2 separate regions of the Homo sapiens genome follow, and region 2 is linked to region 1. Evidence: promoter capture Hi-C in 16 types of primary human blood cells and fetal thymus (Javierre and others, 2016). All regions are on one chromosome and are shown on one strand. Each heading gives the region's core, a stretch centred on a gene start or on the middle of the fragment in contact. The rest is flanking DNA. Distances are from core to core; before and after follow the strand shown. Region 1 holds the start of MON2 (MON2 regulator of endosome-to-Golgi trafficking). Region 2 overlaps RXYLT1 (ribitol xylosyltransferase 1).

What was found. Contacts are between HindIII fragments. The CHiCAGO score rates a contact against its expected background, and 5 or more counts as called.
Region 2: a contact is called between a fragment that was not itself captured here and the fragment with the promoter of MON2 in region 1, in 1 of 17 cell types (total CD8 T cells). The highest score is 5.7, in total CD8 T cells.

The regions. Positions count from the first base shown.
Region 1 is chr12:62,464,600-62,468,487 of GRCh38, forward strand. MON2 (MON2 regulator of endosome-to-Golgi trafficking) reads left to right here and starts at 2,227. Exons shown (of 35, transcript NM_015026.3): 1 at 2,227-2,719. The coding sequence starts at 2,609. RefSeq lists a silencer at 1,929-2,248 and enhancers at 2,279-2,388, 2,384-2,883. The HindIII fragment of the contact is 1,301 bases long and covers 978-2,278 here.
Region 2 is chr12:63,786,299-63,790,186 of GRCh38, forward strand. All of the region lies in intron 3 of RXYLT1 (ribitol xylosyltransferase 1), which reads left to right. Among named protein-coding and RNA genes, the nearest start is that of RXYLT1, 8.3 kb to the left of the region's middle. The HindIII fragment of the contact is 202 bases long and covers 1,834-2,035 here.

The sequences.
Region 1 (3,888 bases), core at 977-3,476:
TTCTGTCTCAGCCTCCCAAGTAGCTGGGACTACAGGTGCCTGTGACCACGCCTGGCTAATTTTTGTATTTTTAGTAGAGACGGGGTTCCGCCTTGTTGGTCAGGTTGGTCTCCAACGCCTGACCTCAGGTGAGCCACCCGCCTCGGCCTCCCAAATTGTTGGGATTATGGGTGTGAGCCACCGCACCCAGGTGCTACACCTTACTTTTAAAATTTGGCTTTTCAAATCATTAGAAGTATTGTTTTCAATCAATGAATTCCAATTGCATGTCCTCAACTCTGAACAGAGATGTAAAAGATTCTAACGATTTTGAGTTAATCATGCCAAAGTTACCAATAGTAAAAAATCCAAAAGAAAAGTTGGCTACATAGTGAAAGTCAGAGAATTTGATCCTATATCACTAGCCCAATTACTAAAGCATCATTTTTGGCCAGGTGTGGTGGCTCATGCCTGTAATCCCAGCACTTCGGGAGGTCGAGGTGGGTGGATCACTTGTACTCTGGAGTTCCAGATCAGCCTGGCCAACATGCTGAAACCCCATCTCTACTAAAAAGAACAACAAACAAACAAACAAAAAGGCCTGCGGTGTGGCTCACGCCTTTGTAATCCTAGCACTTTGGGAGGCCAAGGCAGGTGGATTGCCTGAGCTCAGTAGTTGGAGACCAGCCTGGGCAACACAGTGAAACCCCATCTCTACTAAAATACAAAAAATTAGCCGGGCGTGGCAGCCTACGCCTGTAGTCCCAGCTACTCGGGAGGCTGAGACAGGAGAATTGCTTGACCCTGGGAGGTGGAGGTTGCAGTGAGTGGAGATCGCGCCACTGCACTCCAGCCTGAGTGACAGAGTGAGACTCCGTCTCCACCCCCCACCCAAAAAAAGCGCCTCGTTTTTACAAGCTCCCTGAGACCTCAAGAATAATGTCTGCCATATATTCCATTTGAACTTTTTTGCTAAATTCACCAGTTTTCATACATAAAGCTTATACCATAGGAGGTGTCAAGTTTCCCAGAAGTTGTGTAATAGGCACAAATGATCAAAATTACTGCCCTAGGAGCTCTCTACTATTACCTCATCTGTCCCCTTTATCCATCCTTGCTTTGCTTCTTATCAGAAGGAAAAATAAAATAAAATTATTTAGCTTACAAAGTAGCTCTGTTACAGCCAAACAGCGCTATCCACTGACAATCTCATGGCTCACTGTCTTCCATCATGTCATAAGCTCAGCTGTCTGAAGGTGTTGGTTTCTTCATCTCTACTGTTTCTGGTTTTTCCTCCCTCATTTTCTGCTTTCTGACCAGCAGCTGCAAAATGTCTTGGGGAAAAAGTAGACCAACCTGGATCTTGGGGAAATACAGATGAAGATTTTTCTGTTTGGCTTTTGCCTCATATTTATTTGGCACTTCAGACCTGATGAAGGCTTTTATGTATCTGTGCCTTATTTGAGCCTCGAAACTCTGATTTTATAATAGAAGGGTATTCATTCAACAAGTATGTACTGATTACCTGCTATATGCCAGACACTGTTCTAGGTGCTGGAGATACACAGGAAACAAAATAAGATTTAAAAAGAGGAAGAACCGGCAGCCCAACTCGCGAAACTCTCCTTTTAGCTGGGAGCATCTGCCAGTAAAGGGGCCGGGACAGATCTCGTAGCGCCTGGTAGGTGATTGGAGGAATTTTGGCTTTTACTTTGAGTGAGATGGGAGGCCAGCGGAATGCGTGGAGCAGAGGGTAGTCTCATTTTAGAGATTAGGAAAATAAGAGGCTACCCCACAGTAAGTGCACCAGTTGCGTTTAAAGAAAAAAAATGTATATTAACAGGAGGTAGCCACTGATTTGGGGCCACTAGTCCAGAGATTCGAAATGAAGCGGGAGGAGACACGTTAAGATTAATCTACAGGGAAACAAATTATTTACACCGAAATACAATTTAACACAAACATACGCAAAGAGATATGCCAAGGAGTACTCGGGGGCTCTGTTCAGGCACTTGTTAATGAAAACGAAGCGAATCTTGACGCCTTAAACCCTGTCTAGCCTACTTGATTCCGGGGGTGGGGCTGTGGGAATCGCTGCCCACCCGGAATCCCGCCTGCCCCGAGCATGGCCAAGCCCCAGCCCCGCCCCGCCGACGGCCTGCCGCCGGGGTTGGCCGCGGCGGTGGCGGAGGCCACGGTACCCGGAAGTGCGGCTGACGTGTCCCGGCAGCGCTCGGAATTGTGGGCGACTCGGCTAATGGCGTCGGCGAGTCTTAGGGGCCTGGGGAGCTGGCGCTGAAGCTTCTTGCCAGGTTGGCTGGTGACACCCGGTGTGGCTGGGCCCCGCGGCAGCGGAGGGACCTGCCCGCCTTGTGGGTTTCTCGGCCAGAGTCGGCGGAGCCTAGCGGGACGGTGCGACTGCGGGGGGCGCCTCCGAGAAAAGCCAGAGGTGTTGCGGGGAAGCTGCTGGGGGACGCTCGAGCAGGCTCCGGGTTCGCAGCCCAGGGCCCAAGAAGCGGGCTGCTGAAGGACCAGAGACACCGGGAGGGAGCTGCCTGTGGCCCTAAGGAGCTGACCGTGCCAGAGCTTGTTTGTACCTCTCGGAAATTGGCTGGGACCTTGGAGGATCATGTCCGGCACCAGCAGCCCCGAGGCGGTGAAGAAGCTGCTGGAGAATATGCAGAGCGACTTGCGCGCCTTGTCACTGGAGTGCAAGAAGAAATTCCCACCTGTCAAAGAGGTAAGCTTCAGGTGACGTCAGGAGAAGGCACTGTGAGCATGCCTGGTCCTGTTAGACTCAGTGCTTCACCCCAGTTTCCAGTCCTAATTTTCATTCAGGCCTCACCTTTCCAGATTTGTGAGTCGGTGGGTTGTTCCACAAGGGCTTTTTATAGTTTCCACTGGAGAGGGCTGAGGCACTTTGATTTTCTCCCCTCTCCTGTCCTCCCAGTTTAGGAGTGAAGTTCATGAAGTGAGCCTATTCAGTTAATCCAGCTAGGTGTACTGTGCACTAGCCTATTCTGGCCTTTTTCTTACTTGAAACTGGCCAAACCAAAATTGAAAAACTTGTTTGTTGCTCCCCGAAACGAGTATCCACCCATCTTGTTGAAACCTGTACTCCTCACGTTTATGGCATATCACTGAATTGGAAACAATTTTCCTTCTGGTATATATCATTCAGCTTAACTCTGTATCAATCCTTTGACGTGTTAATAAACTATCCAGAGCCACCTAATTTATGAAGAATATTGAAGATCCACATAATCATGTTAAACCTTGTTATGAGCAGTACTGTAGTGGGAAGTTGGGCTTGCAGTCAGAGCGAATACACCTGAATTTAGTTCCAGCAATAAATCTTAACCTCTTTGAGCTTCGGGTTTTTTTTTCCAGCTGTAAAATAGGGTTAAAGGATGGTTTTATATTATGTATGGGAAAGATGTCAGAGCAGAAGGGTATTATTAAAGAGATCCCAGTAAATAATACATGGAAATTTAATTCTCCAAATAGTTCTTGAGGTGAAATATTTAACATTTGGTTACTATTTGCTTTTTCTCTTAAAATGCCATTTTAATTCTCTAAAAAAAAAAAACAAACAAAAAAACCCACCAAAAACAGGCCCGGCTAATTTTGTATTTTTAGTAGAAACAGGGTTTCTCCATGTTGGTCAGGCGGGTCTCGAACTCCCGACTTCAGATGATCCCCCTGCCTCGGCCTCCCAAAGTGCTGGGATTACAGGCGTGAGCCACAGCGCCCGGCTGTTTTTATTTTTATTCCTATTTAATGTAGTTTGTTTTACCTGCAATTTCATTTACTCTTTGCCCTAAAAATTCACCGAGGGATTTCATATTTACATACTTATTTAAATATATCTTTATTATTATGAAGATTATGTAATTAGAACTTGACCAA
Region 2 (3,888 bases), core at 685-3,184, 1.3 Mb after region 1:
AAAAGAAAGCCAAATGTATCCTTTACTTCTGAAATATTTGTGGGAGATTTTACAGGCATCCTCTAGAGATACTGCGTGTTCAGTTCCACACCACTGCAGTCAAGCAAATACTGCAATAAAGCAAGTCATATGAATTTTTTTATTATCCAGTACATATGAAAGTTATGTTTACACTGTACTACAGTCTATTAAGTGTGTAATAGTATTATGCCTAAAAAAAAAAAATACGTACCTTAAGTGAAAAATACTTTATTGCTAAAAAATGCTAACAGTTATCTGACCCATCAGCAAGTCATCTTTTTGCTGGTGGAGGGTCTTGCCTCGATGTTGATGTCTAATCAGTGTATTGATGACTAATCAGGGTGGTGGTTGCTGAAGGCTGGGGTGGCTGTGACAATTTCTTAAAATAAGACAACAATGAAGTTTGCCACATCAGTTGACTCTTCCTTCACAAAAGTTTTCTCTGTAGCACATGATGCTATTTGGTGGCATTTTTACCCATAGAACTTCTTTCAAAATTGGAGTCAATCCTAGGCCGGATGCAGTGGCTCATGCCTGTAATCCCAGTACTTTGGGAGGCTGAGGTAGCTGGATCACTTGAGGTCAGGAGTTCGAGACCAACCTGGCTATCATCGTGAAACCCCGTCTCTACTAAAGATACAAAAATTGGCTGCAAGTGGCAGCACACACCTGTAATCCCAGCTACTTGGGAGGCTGAGGCAAAAGAATCCTTGAACCTGGGAGTCAGAGGATGCAGTGAGGTAAGATCATGCCACTGCCCTCCAACCCCGGGCGACAGAATGAGTCAAAGAAAAAAAAAAATTGGAGCCAGTCCTCTCAAACCCTACTGCTGCTTTATCAACTACATTTTTGGAATATTCTGAATCCTTTATTGTCACTTCACCAATGTTCACAACATTGTATCTTCACCAGAAGTAGATTCCATCTCAGGAAACCACTTTCTCTGCTCATTCATAAAAAGCAACTCCTCATCTGTTGAAGTTTTATCATGAGATTGAAGCAATTCAGTCACACCTTCAGGTTCCACTTCTAATTCTACTTTTCTTTCCATTTCTACCACATCTTCAGTGACTTCCTCCACTTAAATCTCGAACCCCTCAAAGTCATCCATGAGGGTTTAAATCAGCTTCTTCCAAATTCCTTTTAATGTTGATGTTTTGACCTCGTCCCATGAATCATGAATGTTCATGGTATCTAGAATAATGAATCATCTCCAGAAGGTTTTCATTTACTTTGCCCAGATCCATCAGAGGAACCACTGTCTGTGGCAGCTATAGCCTTATGAAAAGTATTTCTTTTGTTGTTGTTGTTTGTTGTTTTTTTTTTGAGACAGAGTCTTGTTCTGTCATCCAGGCTGGAGGGCAGTAGCGTAATCTCAGCTTCCTGCAACTTGCGCCCCTGGGTTCAAGTGATTCTCGTGCTTCAACATCCCAAGTAGCTGGGACTATGGGCATACGCCACCACACCCAGCTAATTTTTGTATTTTTAGTGGAGATGGGGTTTCACCATGTTGGCCAGGTCTCCTGTCTCGGACTCCTGTCCCCAAGTGATCCACCCGCTTCAGCCTCCCAAAGTGCTAGGATTACGGGCGTGAGCCATCGTGTCTGGCCAAAAAGTATTTCTTAAATAAGACTTGAAAGTCAAAATTACTCCTTGATCCATGGGCTGCAGAATAGATATTTTGTTAGCAGGTATGAGGACATGAATCTCCTGTACATCTCCATCAGATCTCTTGGGTGACCAGGTGCATTGTCAATGAGCAGTAATATTTTGAAAGGAATCCTTTTTTCTGAGCAGTACTTCTCAATAGTAAGCTTAAAATATTCAGTAAACCATGCTGTGAACAGATGTTGCTGTCATCTAGGCTTTTTTCCATTTATAGGGCACAGGCAGAGTAGATTTAGGATAGTTTTAAAGGTCCTAGGATTTTCAGAATGATAAATGAGCATTGGCTTCAACTTAAAGTCACCCAGCTACATTTAGTCCCTGATAAGAGAATCAGCCTGTCCTTTGAAGCTTTGAAGCCAGGCATTGACTTCTCTCTAGCTATGAAAGTCCTAGATGTCATCTTCTGCTGATATAAAGCTGTTTCATCTGCATTGAAAATCTGTTGTCTAGTGTAGCCACCTTCATCAATGATCTTAGCTAAATCTTCTGGATAACTTGATGCAGCTTCTACATTAGTACTTGCTGCTTCACCTTGCATTTTTATGTTATGGAGATGGCTTCTTTCCTTAAACCTCATGAATCAACCTCTGGCAACGTCAGACTTTTCTCCTGCAGCTTCCTCACCTTTCTCAACCTTCATAGAATTGAAAAGAGTGGAGGCCTTGCTCTGGATTAGGCTTTGGCTTAAGGGAATGTTGTGGCTGGTTTGATCCTCTATCCAGACTATTAAACCTTTCTCCATATGAGCAATAAGACTATTTCACCTTCACATCATTCATGTTGTTCACTGGAGTAGCACTTTTCATTTCCTTCAAGAACTTTTCCTTTGCATTCCCACCTTGACTGTTTGGCATAAGAGGCCTAGCTTTTAGCTTGCCTCAGCTTTTGACATGCCTTCCTCACTAAGCTTAACTATTTCTAGCTTTTGGTTGCAAGCTTCTCCAACCCACCTTATTTTATTGTTGTTGTTCTGTTTTGTTTTGTCTTAGGCTTTTAGCAGCCTGAAGCCATGGCTTTTAGTTTCTGTCTTTAGTAATAAGCAGAAAAGAGGGATAAGGAAGGGGTTTTACTGGCCCAACCAGAAACAGAAACTAAGAATCCATGCCTATATTCTCTCCCTTGGACACTCCTGAAAGTGAGAGACTTGCGACTCTTCCTTTCACCTAGAGGGCATTCATTATAGGGTTATTAATTATAGGGAACACTTAGAGGGCATTATAGGGTTAATAATTGGCCTAATAGTGTTGTGTCTCAGGGAATAGGGAGGCCCAAGGAGATGGGGAGAAATGGGGGAATACTGGTTGGTGGAGCAGTTAGACCACACACATAGCATTTATCTATTAAGTTTGCCATCAGATCTTGTGAGACTTATTCACTATCATGAGAACAGTACAAGAAAGACCTGCCCCCATGATTCAATTACTTCCCACCGGGCACCTCCCACAACATGTGGGAATTGTGGGAGCTACAGTTCAAGATGAGATTTGGGTGGGGACACAGCCAAACCATATCACCATCTCATAGTGAGCACATGCTGTTGGAAAATGGTACCAATAGAATTGCTTGACTGGGGATCACCACAAACTTTCAATTTGTAAAAAACTCTTTATTTGCAAAGTACAATAAAGTGAAGCACAATAAAATGAGGTGTGCTGGTATTATGGCCAAAGAGTAATACCGTTTCCTCTTAGGATTTAAGAGAACTATATTCAAGAAAGGTCACCATTGTATGAGATTTTTTTTAAACAGCTTATTAAAGTGTTAGGTTCATGAAAAGTAGCGTACATAATTTATCCAAAATTAATAAACTTTTATGCAATTGTAAGTCTTCAGTTGAAACAACTACATGGGTACTAACTTAAGTGTTTCCACACATTCACCATCCTTGTTTGACCAAAAGTGAATCAGAAGTAACGGCTCACCTTGAAGATATTGGAAGAATTTGTAAGTACTGTTAAGATACTTGTTGAAAATAAGTGTAAATATACTTTGTTTAAATAAACAAACGAGCTTATATCATTTAATTGTAGCCTCGAGACAATTCTAAGACAGAAGTAGAAAGGATATCATCAGTGTTGCAGGGCTCATCAGGCTCAGGAATGCTGATTTTCATCAACACATAGGCCCAAAGAATGAATTCCAGCATACCAAATAAATGATATAGAATGGAAAGAGAGCTGTCAGTCAGGCCATGTGTTT